2 separate regions of the Homo sapiens genome follow, and region 2 is linked to region 1. The links are contacts of gene promoters, found by promoter capture Hi-C in human tissues and cell types (Jung and others, 2019). All regions are on one chromosome and are shown on one strand. Each heading gives the region's core, a stretch centred on a gene start or on the middle of the fragment in contact. The rest is flanking DNA. Distances are from core to core; before and after follow the strand shown. Region 1 holds the start of METTL2A (methyltransferase 2A, tRNA N3-cytidine). Region 2 holds the start of TLK2 (tousled like kinase 2).

Evidence for each region. Contacts are between HindIII fragments. The study calls those that stand out against the background at their distance.
Region 2: a fragment that was not itself captured here is called in contact with the fragment with the promoter of METTL2A in region 1 in 1 of the 25 tissues and cell types used here (hippocampus).

The regions. Positions count from the first base shown.
Region 1 is chr17:62,422,037-62,427,372 of GRCh38, reverse strand. It overlaps METTL2A (methyltransferase 2A, tRNA N3-cytidine), which reads right to left and starts at 3,476. Exons shown (of 9, transcript NM_181725.4): 1 at 3,361-3,476; 2 at 3,063-3,154; 3 at 719-1,074. The coding sequence starts at 3,470. RefSeq lists enhancers at 3,092-3,461, 3,213-3,743. The HindIII fragment of the contact is 20,157 bases long and covers 1-5,336 here.
Region 2 is chr17:62,478,698-62,484,214 of GRCh38, reverse strand. It overlaps TLK2 (tousled like kinase 2), which reads right to left and starts at 5,390. Exons shown (of 22, transcript NM_006852.6): 1 at 4,925-5,390; 2 at 3,009-3,094. The coding sequence starts at 3,089. RefSeq lists silencers at 4,626-5,015, 5,506-5,517. The HindIII fragment of the contact is 7,438 bases long and covers 1-5,517 here.

The DNA of each region.
Region 1 (5,336 bases), core at 2,227-4,726:
AACTATTTATTAAGGGCTTAACTATGTGCCAGATACTGTTCTTAGCCCTTTTACATACATTATCTCCATCCTCATAACTATAAAGTGCAGAGGCAGCAGTCTCACTGCTCAGAGAGGGTAAGGAAATTGTCTAAGATCACACCATAGGACTCAATCCCAAGGCTGACCAGTTCCAGAACCAGCTTCCAGTAACGTGCGCAGTCCCCATTTATGAATTTACATTATACCAATCTAGACATTTTTCCAGGTCTAGACTCTGCAACACCATCCAAATGCAGAGGAAGAGAATTATCCCAGGCCTAAGAAACAGGCACCATCCTAACTACCCTCTCCATTCCTGTAACTGTATTAGAAGAGAAGCAACAATTTCTTCTGATCTGGGACTTTTTTCCAGAGTTATAGCATGATCATGTTGAGCTCCTTCACCTGTATGATGCAGTGGCATGTGACAGGTACAGCATGATGCCATTAATACAATTTTTGGAAGTGACATGCTATTCTCGTGTGATCTTTGTCCGTCATGACTACCAGATATCTGGTCTGCATTGAGGGCATTTTATCAGTTCAAAAATGGAGGTGATTCCAGGCTAATATAAGGGTCAAGTCTAGTCAGCATCATCCAATAGAAGTTACTTTTGTTGTCAGCCTCTCTATGCTACCTCATGTGCACAAATATAATAGCTTCACATATCCCACTACCAAGACAATAAAAGGTTACCTCCAGTATTCGGTAGGTGGCTGAGGATCCAGGAAACTCATCAGCACAAATTTCCAGGTCACTAATTTTCTGAGTTACATTCTCCTCCACAGGAAGTGTCTGTGTTTTATGTTCAAGGCTCTTTGAAGAACACTTGTGCTGTTCTTCCATTATTAAACCAGGTCCATCCTCATTGTTTCTACATTCAGGTACTTCACTCTTGTTCTCCAAGAACCAGTCCTTCAAATGATTTTGATTTTGGCTAGGTGCCAGCTCAGGGAATTCGGTAAAAAGCCAATGTCTATCCTTGAAAAACCCATTTTCGTGGATTTTGTAGAAGTCATTCCAGTATTTGTGGGCATTGATCTCATAATCAACTGTAAATATTTAAGAAAAAATTTTAAGAACCAGCTCTCAAATGTTTTATTTATATCTAATATCAATTATCCTGCTTTACCAAATGTCACTTTAATACTAAAAGTATCCTCAGGTAGAGCCACAGTCCCAGAACTGAAGGCATTTCTGAGGTCATTTAGTCCTGCCATCTGGCATTATACCCTAATGCCCCTATCCGTCATTATAGGAGAGTCTAAATTCTGTTTGAACAATCAACCAGAGAACTTACTATCTATCAAGTGTCCTCCTACATCTTTGGATGCCTTTTTTTTTTTTTTTGAGACAGAGTCTCGCTCTGTCACCCAGGCTGGAGTGCAGGGGCGCAATCTTGGCTCACTGCAAGCTCCACCTCCCGGGTTCATGCCATTCTCCTGCCTCATCCTACTGAGTAGCTGGGACTACAGGCGCCTGCCACCACGCCCGGCTAATTTTTTGTATTTTTTAGTACAGACGGGGTTTCACCGTGTTAGCCAGGATGGTCTCGATCTCCTGACCTCGTGATCCACCCGCCTCGGCCTCCCAAAGTGCTGGGATTACAGGCATGAGTCATCGCGCCCAGCCAGATGACTTTTAACTATTAAAAAATCCTAGAAGTAGCCAGGTGCAGTGGCTCATGCCTGTAATCCCAGCACTTTGGGAGGCTGAGGTGGGCGGATCACGAGGTCAGGAGATCGAGACCATCCTGGCCAGCACGGTGAAACCCCGTCTGTACTAAAATACAAAAAATTAGCCAGGCGTGGTGGTGCACACCTGTAGTCCCAGCTACTAGGGAGGCTGAGGCAGGGGAATCGCTTGAACCAGGGAGGAGGAGATTGCAGCGAGCTGAGATCGTGCCACTGCACTCCAGCCTGGTGACAGAGCGAGACTCCATCTCCAAAAAAAAAAAAAAAGTATGGACAGTTTAAATGAAGGCTGTTTTTAAGGTGATCATGACAGTCCCAGATTTCAGTTTACTGCTCTTGCCAATTCAGGGGGCCTTGACTAGTGTAGTAGAAAGAATAAAAACCTAACAAATTGAGCAGGACAGTGACAATGGAAGTTGGAATCCACTAAGAAGTGTGTTAACAACTCACAACTCACCTGCTGAATCAACCAAGACTCCCTAAGAAACAGGATTTTAGTTCCACTACTGCTACTACTGACTGCTTACCTCTGGGAAAAGCACTTAATGTCCTGTGGTCCAAGTGTCTTTAACTATAAAAAGAGAATATTGAACCACATGATTTTCAAAATCCCTTTCAACTATTAACTTGCTTTGATCTAGTTGCTGTCAAAATATGCAGGGTGAATGTTTTGTAACTGGAATCTTTTTGTTGTACAGAACTCTTTCAGCGGGTACTAAATTTGTAGTCCTATCTTCAATTGTCTGGAACAATCAGTCCTAGTTTTACTATCTAGGGATATTTTGCAGTGAAATCATCCACCTCTCAAGCAGGGGCCTCCTTTTCTTTGGCCAGACTTATCTCCACTCTGCTGCATCCACCTTTCCTTGACTAAAGCCCTAAATTCTCATAACCATCACACAAGTAATAGACACACAGTCACCAGTCACTAGCCCCCCTCCCAACAATATTTAGAATCTAATCACTTCAATGAAGCTTCAATGGAAAACATCTCCTCATGGAAAATGCAAATCAAGTAAAAAGTACAGGTTCTAAGATGATCGCGTGACCACACAGTTGTCATTGGCTAGCCATATCAACGTGGATCTACTAAACATAATTAAAGACAACATTACCCTCCTCCAAAGTAAAACTATATATAAAAAAACCCTCTACGACTTAAGATTTTGTTACAATGCAGCCCTTTTCTCTCCTTGCTCATCCCCTCCCTGTCCCGCTCTACTCCTGAGATCTGCATCAGGCCAGGAATAAAGGATCTGGGCGGCCGCGGTTCCCTGGCCTCTCCGGGAGGGCGCGTTCGGCAGTACGCTGGCTGTTGATACCAATGAGAGCCCATTTAAGCGCACCTTGTTTCTCCTGGCACACCCGCTGGATACTGTTCTCCTGGACTTTTCTCTCCGCCGCCGCGGCTTGCTCTTCCGACCACTCCACATTGTCCCTGAGAAAATCAAACGGGCAGCTTAGGGGCCTCACGTCCTGGCTGCGGGCAGGGTGAGTCGCTGGCCTAGGAGTTTCTCTCCCCTTGGAGAGTGCCTCGGGTAGGGCAGCTTGACTCGTGGCCGGCGGTCAGGGGCTTTTCGGAGTGCTCCGAGGCGGCGGGACAGAGGGTCAGCGACAGGCCGGGCGAAGGGGCAGAGTGATTACCAGGCATTGTGGTGGAAGACGCGCGCCGGATCTCTCAGGAACCGGCTTCCGAACTGCTGCCTCTTATCGGCGAGGACTGCAGGTGCACCTTCAGGGTAGGAGCCGGCCATGACACCGGAGCCGGAAACACTTTACTTTCCGTAACGTGAGAACTTCCTGCGGACCACGCCCTCTTTCAGAAGACGCGGAGTCTGGGCGGGAAAAAGGGTGGCGGGACAGGGCGGCACTGGAGTCTGGTCCGGGTGGCGCTCGGGAGCTGTCGTTTGGGGCTGTCCCAGGGTTGGCGAAGGGCTCTCTAGGAGAGGGGACCAGGCAGGGGGAAATTCTCCCCGGAGGAGTCGTTTCTCATTGATGAGGTGCTGATGGACGTGCAGGTTAGGCAGAAAGTGGGAGACATTCCACTTGAGACCCAGTTCAATGCTGGGATCCTCTTAACAGGTTCCCCAGCTTCCCTCAAGTTATAAAACAGGAAAAATCTTGAATCATTATAAGAGTTGAGGCTACCTAGTTCCACTGCGGAGCCGATGTCCAGAACTGAAGAAGGTAGCAAGCAGCGGGAAGAAACAGGGCAATTTCCAGCTTCTATATTCAGCTCTTAATAGTGTGGGTGTATATGTATACACAGTGTGTATATATATTTTGGTTGGGGTAGGGGGAGATGGAGATATGAAATTAGAGAACACGAGGCTTAGCAAATCAAATGGAATATCCAAGGACAATTTTTTTTTAAATTATAACCATCTAACCTTTTTGAATCATGCATATTTATTATAATTATCCTTATTAGCACAATTAAGATTGTAATACACACATACAAACAGTTTGTCATAGTAATACATTTCAGCCTTACATTTCTATTTCTAGATCTAACACAAATAGACTCTCAAAAGAATCTAGAAGAAAGTATGTTATAGACATAAGGTTATTTGAGAAGACTTCCAAGAGAAGCATGATGAATACCACTTGGAAAAGAAGGAAAGGGCAGAGACCAAACAAGGACCAGCCCAATACCTCTTGGACTTTATTTAATGTCATAATGTCAGAATAAAGGGAAAGATGAATTTTTTTAAAAAAGGAAAGGGTTAGTGCAGTGCTAGACATAGCACATGGGTAATTAGTACTTTTTTTTTTTTTTGAGACGGAGTCTTGCTCTGTTTCCCAGGCTAGAGTGCAGTAGCCGGATCTCAGCTCGTTATAACCTCCATGTTCTGGGCTCAGGTGGTTCTCCTGCCTCAGCCTCCTGAGTAGCCGGGATTACAGGTGCGCGCTACCACACTCAGCTAATTTTTGTATTTTTAGTAGAGATGGGGTTTCACCATGTTGCCTGGGCTGGTCCCAAACTCCTGACCTCAAATGATCTGCCCGCCTCGGTCTCCCAAAGTGTTGGGATTACAGGCGTGAGCCACCGCGCCCAGCCAGTAATTGTTTATTCCATTGTAAATTCTTTCTGTAGGTAAAACTACGGGGAGCAATGAATGATTCTATACTTTTTCCTCCAAAGAAATGGGAACAAGCTCTAAGCCTCTCTAATCAGGAAGAAAAATACACAAGTTAATAAAAAAAATAGTAAATAAGTTGTACTTCATTTGAAGACAATATGCTTTTGCCATTCTTGTGGTCTTCGGAAACATTTTGAACACAAGCTCCATACCCAGAAACAAGTACAAGGAATTTTTATCTTTTCTCAAGGCCAGCTGTTTGCAGATATGGTGGTTGATTTACATTTATTTCTGGCATCTTGTTTTCTCATCTATGGGCTTTTATTCTCCCCTCACTAAAAGCTGTTAGTGTTCCCAATCAACAGTCCCACTGCATATTTTCTTGCAGACAGCTCATTGTCTTCACTCTAATTTACTATATTAGTTCCAGTGGAGACATTTTAAATGTCAAACAGCTTTGGCCTTTTTTCTGTGAAATGTGCTAAAGTATCCTAAACTTAACTTTATTTTTTATTTTTATTTATTTATTTTTGAGAC
Region 2 (5,517 bases), core at 1,556-4,055, 58 kb before region 1:
AAAATACTCTCCTGCTAGTCCTCAAATAACAAATTCATTGTAATCAATATACTTACCGTGACTGGAAATATCAAAGTAACATACGACTACTTAAGCTGGGCACAGTGGCTCACACCTATAATCCCAGCACTTTGGGAGGCCGAGGCAGGCACATCACAAGGTCGGGAGTTCGAGATCAGCCTGGCCAATATGGTGAAACCCCATCTACTAAAAATACAAAAATTAGCTGGGCATGGTAGCAGGTGCCTATAGTCCCAGCTACTCAGGAGGCTGAGGCAGGAGAATAGCTTGAACCCGGGAGGCAGAGATTGCAGTGCGCCGAGATTGTGCTACTGCACTCCAGCCTGGTTGACAGAGCAAAACTCTGTCTCAAAAAAAAAACAACTAATGGAATAAAAACAACTGGAAATAAAGCTGGGTGCAGTGGCTCATGCCTGTAATCCCAACACTCTGGGAGGCAGAGGCAGGTGGATCATTTGAGGTCAGGAGTTCAAGACCAACCTGTCCAACATGGTAAAACCCCATCTCTACTAAAAATACAAAAATTAACAGGGTGGTAGTGGCGCACGCCTGTAATCCCAGCTATCTATAGGCTGAGGCAGGAGAATTGCTTGAGACTGGGAGATGGAGGTTGAGGTGAGCCGAGATCGTGCCACTGCACTCCAGCCTAGGCTAGAGAGTGAGACCCTCTCAAAAACAAACAAAAAAACTGGAAATAGGTAAATTTCTTTTTCTGTACAGAGAACTTCTTTCTATGTTAAAGGTAGAATTTCCTATTAAACAGATAGGTTACTGTATTAAAGTTTTCTGATACCTTAGTTACATGACTTTAAGTTGGGTCTAGACAGCAACATGTTGAATGTCACTCATTCTTATCACTTATGCCCTACTCCATCAAAAGTATACTTGAATACAGCCATCACGAACCTAAAAACAGAACAACAACCCTAATCCAAAGATCAGTGAGCTTAACTATGTAAAATTTGAATACAAACTTACTGACTTACGGGAGGCGGGGGTGGGGGGACCATTTAAACAGACAGATCTGGACATTAGCCTTATGCTCAATCTTCAAGTTAAAAAGACACATCAGAGGTCATTTAGAGATCAATTTAGTATTCAAATATATTGCTCACTTCTATTTGAAGCTACTTCACCTAGATCAGAGAGTTTACATTTGTAAATGTAACTTCAGTATACAACGTCCAGGGGCACAGCCACTCTAAAGTGCCACAAAAGTAAACTGTTTAAGTGGCCAAAGAAATTAAGAATATGTAACAAATCCTGTGTTCCCACAGCACCTTGTCACAGCTCTAATACAGATCTCATCACGGTATCATCTCTCTCTCCCCATACTGCAGATGTGGAGGTACTGTGCTCAAGCATCAGCCCTAACACCTTGCACAATGCCTAGCATACAGCAGGTGCTCAATATTTGTTGAATAAACAAAAACTATCAAGCTGGTTGGGCGTGGTGGCTCATGCCTGTAATCCTAGCACTTTGGAACACCAAGACAGGCAGATCACTGGAGGTCAGGAGTTCGAGACCCAGCCTGGCCAACATGGAGAAACCCTGTCTCTACTAAAAATAAAAAAAATTAACCAGGCATGGTGGTGCATGCCTGTAATCCCAGCTACTCAGGATGCTGAGGCAAGAGAATCGCTTGAACCCAGGAGGCAGAGGTTGCAGTGAGCCCAGATTGTGCCACTGCACTCCAGCCTGGGTGACAGAGCAAGGCTCTGACTCAAAAAAAAAAAAAACAAAACCCTATCAAGCTATCCCGGCTCACCAAAACTGTGAGACCCATCAAAGAAGCCCATTTTTCCAACTAAACCTCAACACGCCTTCTCCTTGGAGAAGCTACTAACTAAAGCACGAGATCAACACCCAGGTTACCATGAGACAGGATTTCTTGAAAAGCACAGAAACAAATGTTGTATCACACTGGTTAAAGATCAAAAGCTCAGCCAGGCACAGTGGCTCCTGCCTGTGATCCCAGCACTTTGGGAGGCTGAGGCAGGTGGATCACCTGAGGTCAGGAGTTCGAGACCAGCCTGGCCAACATGGTGAAACCCCATCTCTACTAAAAATACAAAAATCAGCTGGGCGTGGTGGCGGGCACCTGTAATCCCAGCTACTCAGGAGGCTGAGGCAGGAGAATCATCACCTGAACCCAGGAGGTGGAGGCTGCAGTGAGCCGAGATCACGCCATTGCACTCCAGCCTCGGCGACAAGAGGAAAACTCTGTCTCAAAAAAAAAAATTCAGTAGCTCATACGTTCACACATCTCAAGCCCAAGTAATATGATCTTGGACCAATAAAGCTTTTAAATAAAATATCGTAAATATACTTTGCATACTGTATTAAAATCAAACATTTTACACATTGTAAAATCATCCTATGAGAGCAGAGGGGTGGACCAGTGGGTACATAAACATGCATAGGAAACTATAACATTGCTTAACTTCATACGTGCCCGTTAATGGGGGCCTAATCTAATATTATGCTCCTGCAACAAAAATAAAAACTAAGAAGGAAGAATGAGAAGAGCAACAAACCAGTCTGGGGGTGCAACCAGTAAAGAGTCTGCAGACTTCACAGAGGCCAATTTTTCAATACTCTACCATGTAACTACCTCCAAAGTCCAATGTAACAAAGCTATGCAATGCCTTGTAATTTTCTTTCTGAATGGCTGACAAGTTTTAACAAAATATGGCATAGAATCTATACACACATCCTGTTAGTTTCCTTGTAACAAGAACCATGAGAAACCTCTCCTATACCAGAAAGGAAGAAGAAACATATATTCCCATATAGAACATTTTCAAACCTACTATGTTAAATGACTACTGGAATGACCAGTAGGATCTAAAAGTTCACTGAAATTAAGACCCAAATCTTCTCCCCTGCAAACTATCAGAAGGGCCTACCCAAATTGCTCTTAATCATTTAAAAAATGTGTTTAAATTAGAATATGAATAGTGTTCATGATCATCATTTTACTCACCTTACTAACACCTACTCCAGTAAACCTGGCCTCCAATAATTCCTGCCGTCGTGGGTCCAGGCTATGCAATTCTTCCATCATTTCTGCTGAAAAAGAAAAAGTAGGCTGTGAAACCATAAACACTAAAATGTGAGGAGGCAATTTTCTGTAGAACAAAACTCACAGTAATTATTTCACTGAAAGATCAAATGCAGGTAAATCTCAAGTAAATATAGCATACAAGTGGTAGACTACTATGTGCTGCATCAAACAGTAATATATTGAAAAGTTTTAAAGCAGCTCAGAAGTCCTCTTCTATGACAGCCACTTTTTCTTCCCTAGTTCTGATTTGATTTTAACAGCAAAAATAAACCCCTCAAACCCTTCATATAATTTCTGTAAAAGTTGAGCACAGGGGAAAGAACAAAACAAGAACTAGCCTGCAAAAAGAAAATTCCTTCTATCAGCCTTAATCTAGCTAAGTATCTTCAGATATTTATTTCCCACTCAGGAAGTAGTCCTTAAACTAAAAATATGAATCATTGACAATAATTTCAAAAGAATATAGGATGAATCAGAAGCTACAAATAACTGCAAAATCACTATTATACAGCTCCTGTCTCTGAAGAGCTCACAGTAGCTCATGAGAAAAGGAATTATTTTAAATTTAATAGAGAGCCCACGGTAAAACCATCCACCTCCATTCACTCAGTAAATTAATATAGCTCCATAACAATCCCTTTAAAAAATCTTTTTCTGACCACTCCCTGCAGTAGTTTTCTCTTGATTCTGGACATCTGCTTTTAGCCCTTCTTCCAAGCAGGGAGGGGCAGGAGGACACCATTTTTAAACTTCCATAACCAATTAATGCACAGGCTACTTTCAGCAAATATGTTCATCCTTTGCAAGAGACCAACTCCTACACGACCCATTTAAAACCTCTCTTTAATATTAACAGTGGAAAAGAAACATATTACATAGAACCCCTTCGAACACATTATTAAGTAGTTGGAATGGTTGGTGTGATTTTAAAGTTACTGAAAAGATGAATCGAACATTCTCCTCTGCAATCCAACAACTCTACAATCTCCAGTAACAACCCCCTTACAAGTCCTTCAGTTTCATTTCCCTTCCTGGATTGAGAGCCTGGGGCAAAGGGGAATGAAAAGGTGACAAATTAAAGTTTCACCCACACATGCAAGTGCAGGTTAGAGAGAGAATTAGGAAATTCTCAGAAAGGTTGAAATGCATCTTTACAAAAAGAAAAAGAAGGAAAAAAAAGAGACTGGGAGAATGAGTTTCCCCCGTGGCCTTCCTCGCGTCTTGCCCTGCCCTAATCGAGGTCGGAATGGCAAAGGTTGCAGTCTCTCCCAAACCCCAAGGTCTCTCGCAACACTTCCCAAACCTCCATCCCCAGGCCCGGCCCGGAAAATGACGCCCCGGCGGTTATTCCGTTTAATGTCAACTCATGTTAAGGAAATAGCCACTCCGTCTAATTCCAGCGGGGCCTTGGACTGGGATCCTCCCTGCAGCCCACAGCCGGGAAGCAGGAGCGATGGGGCCTGGTCCCGGCGCCCCTCGCCGGCTCCAAACTTTCCCCAACTCCAGGCCCACCTGTCACGGAGGAAGGGAGGGCCGGCTCTCGGGGGCGCCCGGGAGGCTGCCGAGGCCTCCAGCTGCCTGGGGGCCCCCGTCTCTCCTCCGGCCGCCGGCCCCAATCCCAGGCCGGGGCCGCCTGGGCCTCCCCCATCTTCTGCCCGGCCCCTCAGCGACCCGCAGCCCTCAGGGAGCCCCTCCCGCCTCAGCGCCCAGGAGCTGCGGTCCGGAGCCGGCCCCGAGCTGGGCCCAGGTCGCAGGCTCCTCAGGCCAAAGGGGTCCCCAGGACGGTTAATGCCCCAGGCCTGGAGTCCTCCCCCGCCCGGGGCTCAGCCTCTCACCTGCCGCCGCCGCCGCCGCCGCTCCACGCTCCTCCCGGGAGGGGCCCCGACCCGACCCGGCTGCGGACCGCTCCGCTCTCCCCCTGGGCAGGCCCGGGGCGGAGCCGGGGCCTCTCCTGAGCGCCGCAACCCCCCGCCCGGGCAGCCGCCGCCGGCGCCGGGCTCCACGAGAGGGCGGGCGGGGGAGGGGGGGCACGAAGGCCGCAGATCCCCGGGCTCGCGTACAGAGCCAGGCGCCCGACGCGGGCCCGGGCCCGGGCGGCCGCGGGGGGCGCGGGACCGGCCTCCTGGCGCCGGACAAAGGCCAAGGGAGGCGCAGGAGGGCCCAGGCCGGGCCAGGAGGTGGGGGCCCGCTCGGCTGGGGGCCACTCGGGTGCGGCGCGGAGGGCGGGGGGGTCGGAACCGCTGGTGCCCAGGACCCGCCTCCGGCCCCTTAATCCGGATCGGTTCGGTCCGGATTAGTAGTGATCGGTGTAAACACACTAGTGAAACCGCGTGTTTCCTCGCGAGATTTGCACGGCTGGGAGGCGGGGGGGGTCCTGGGGGGGTGGGGGAAGCGCCGACAGTGGGGGAGCAGGGGGAGGGGACGAGGA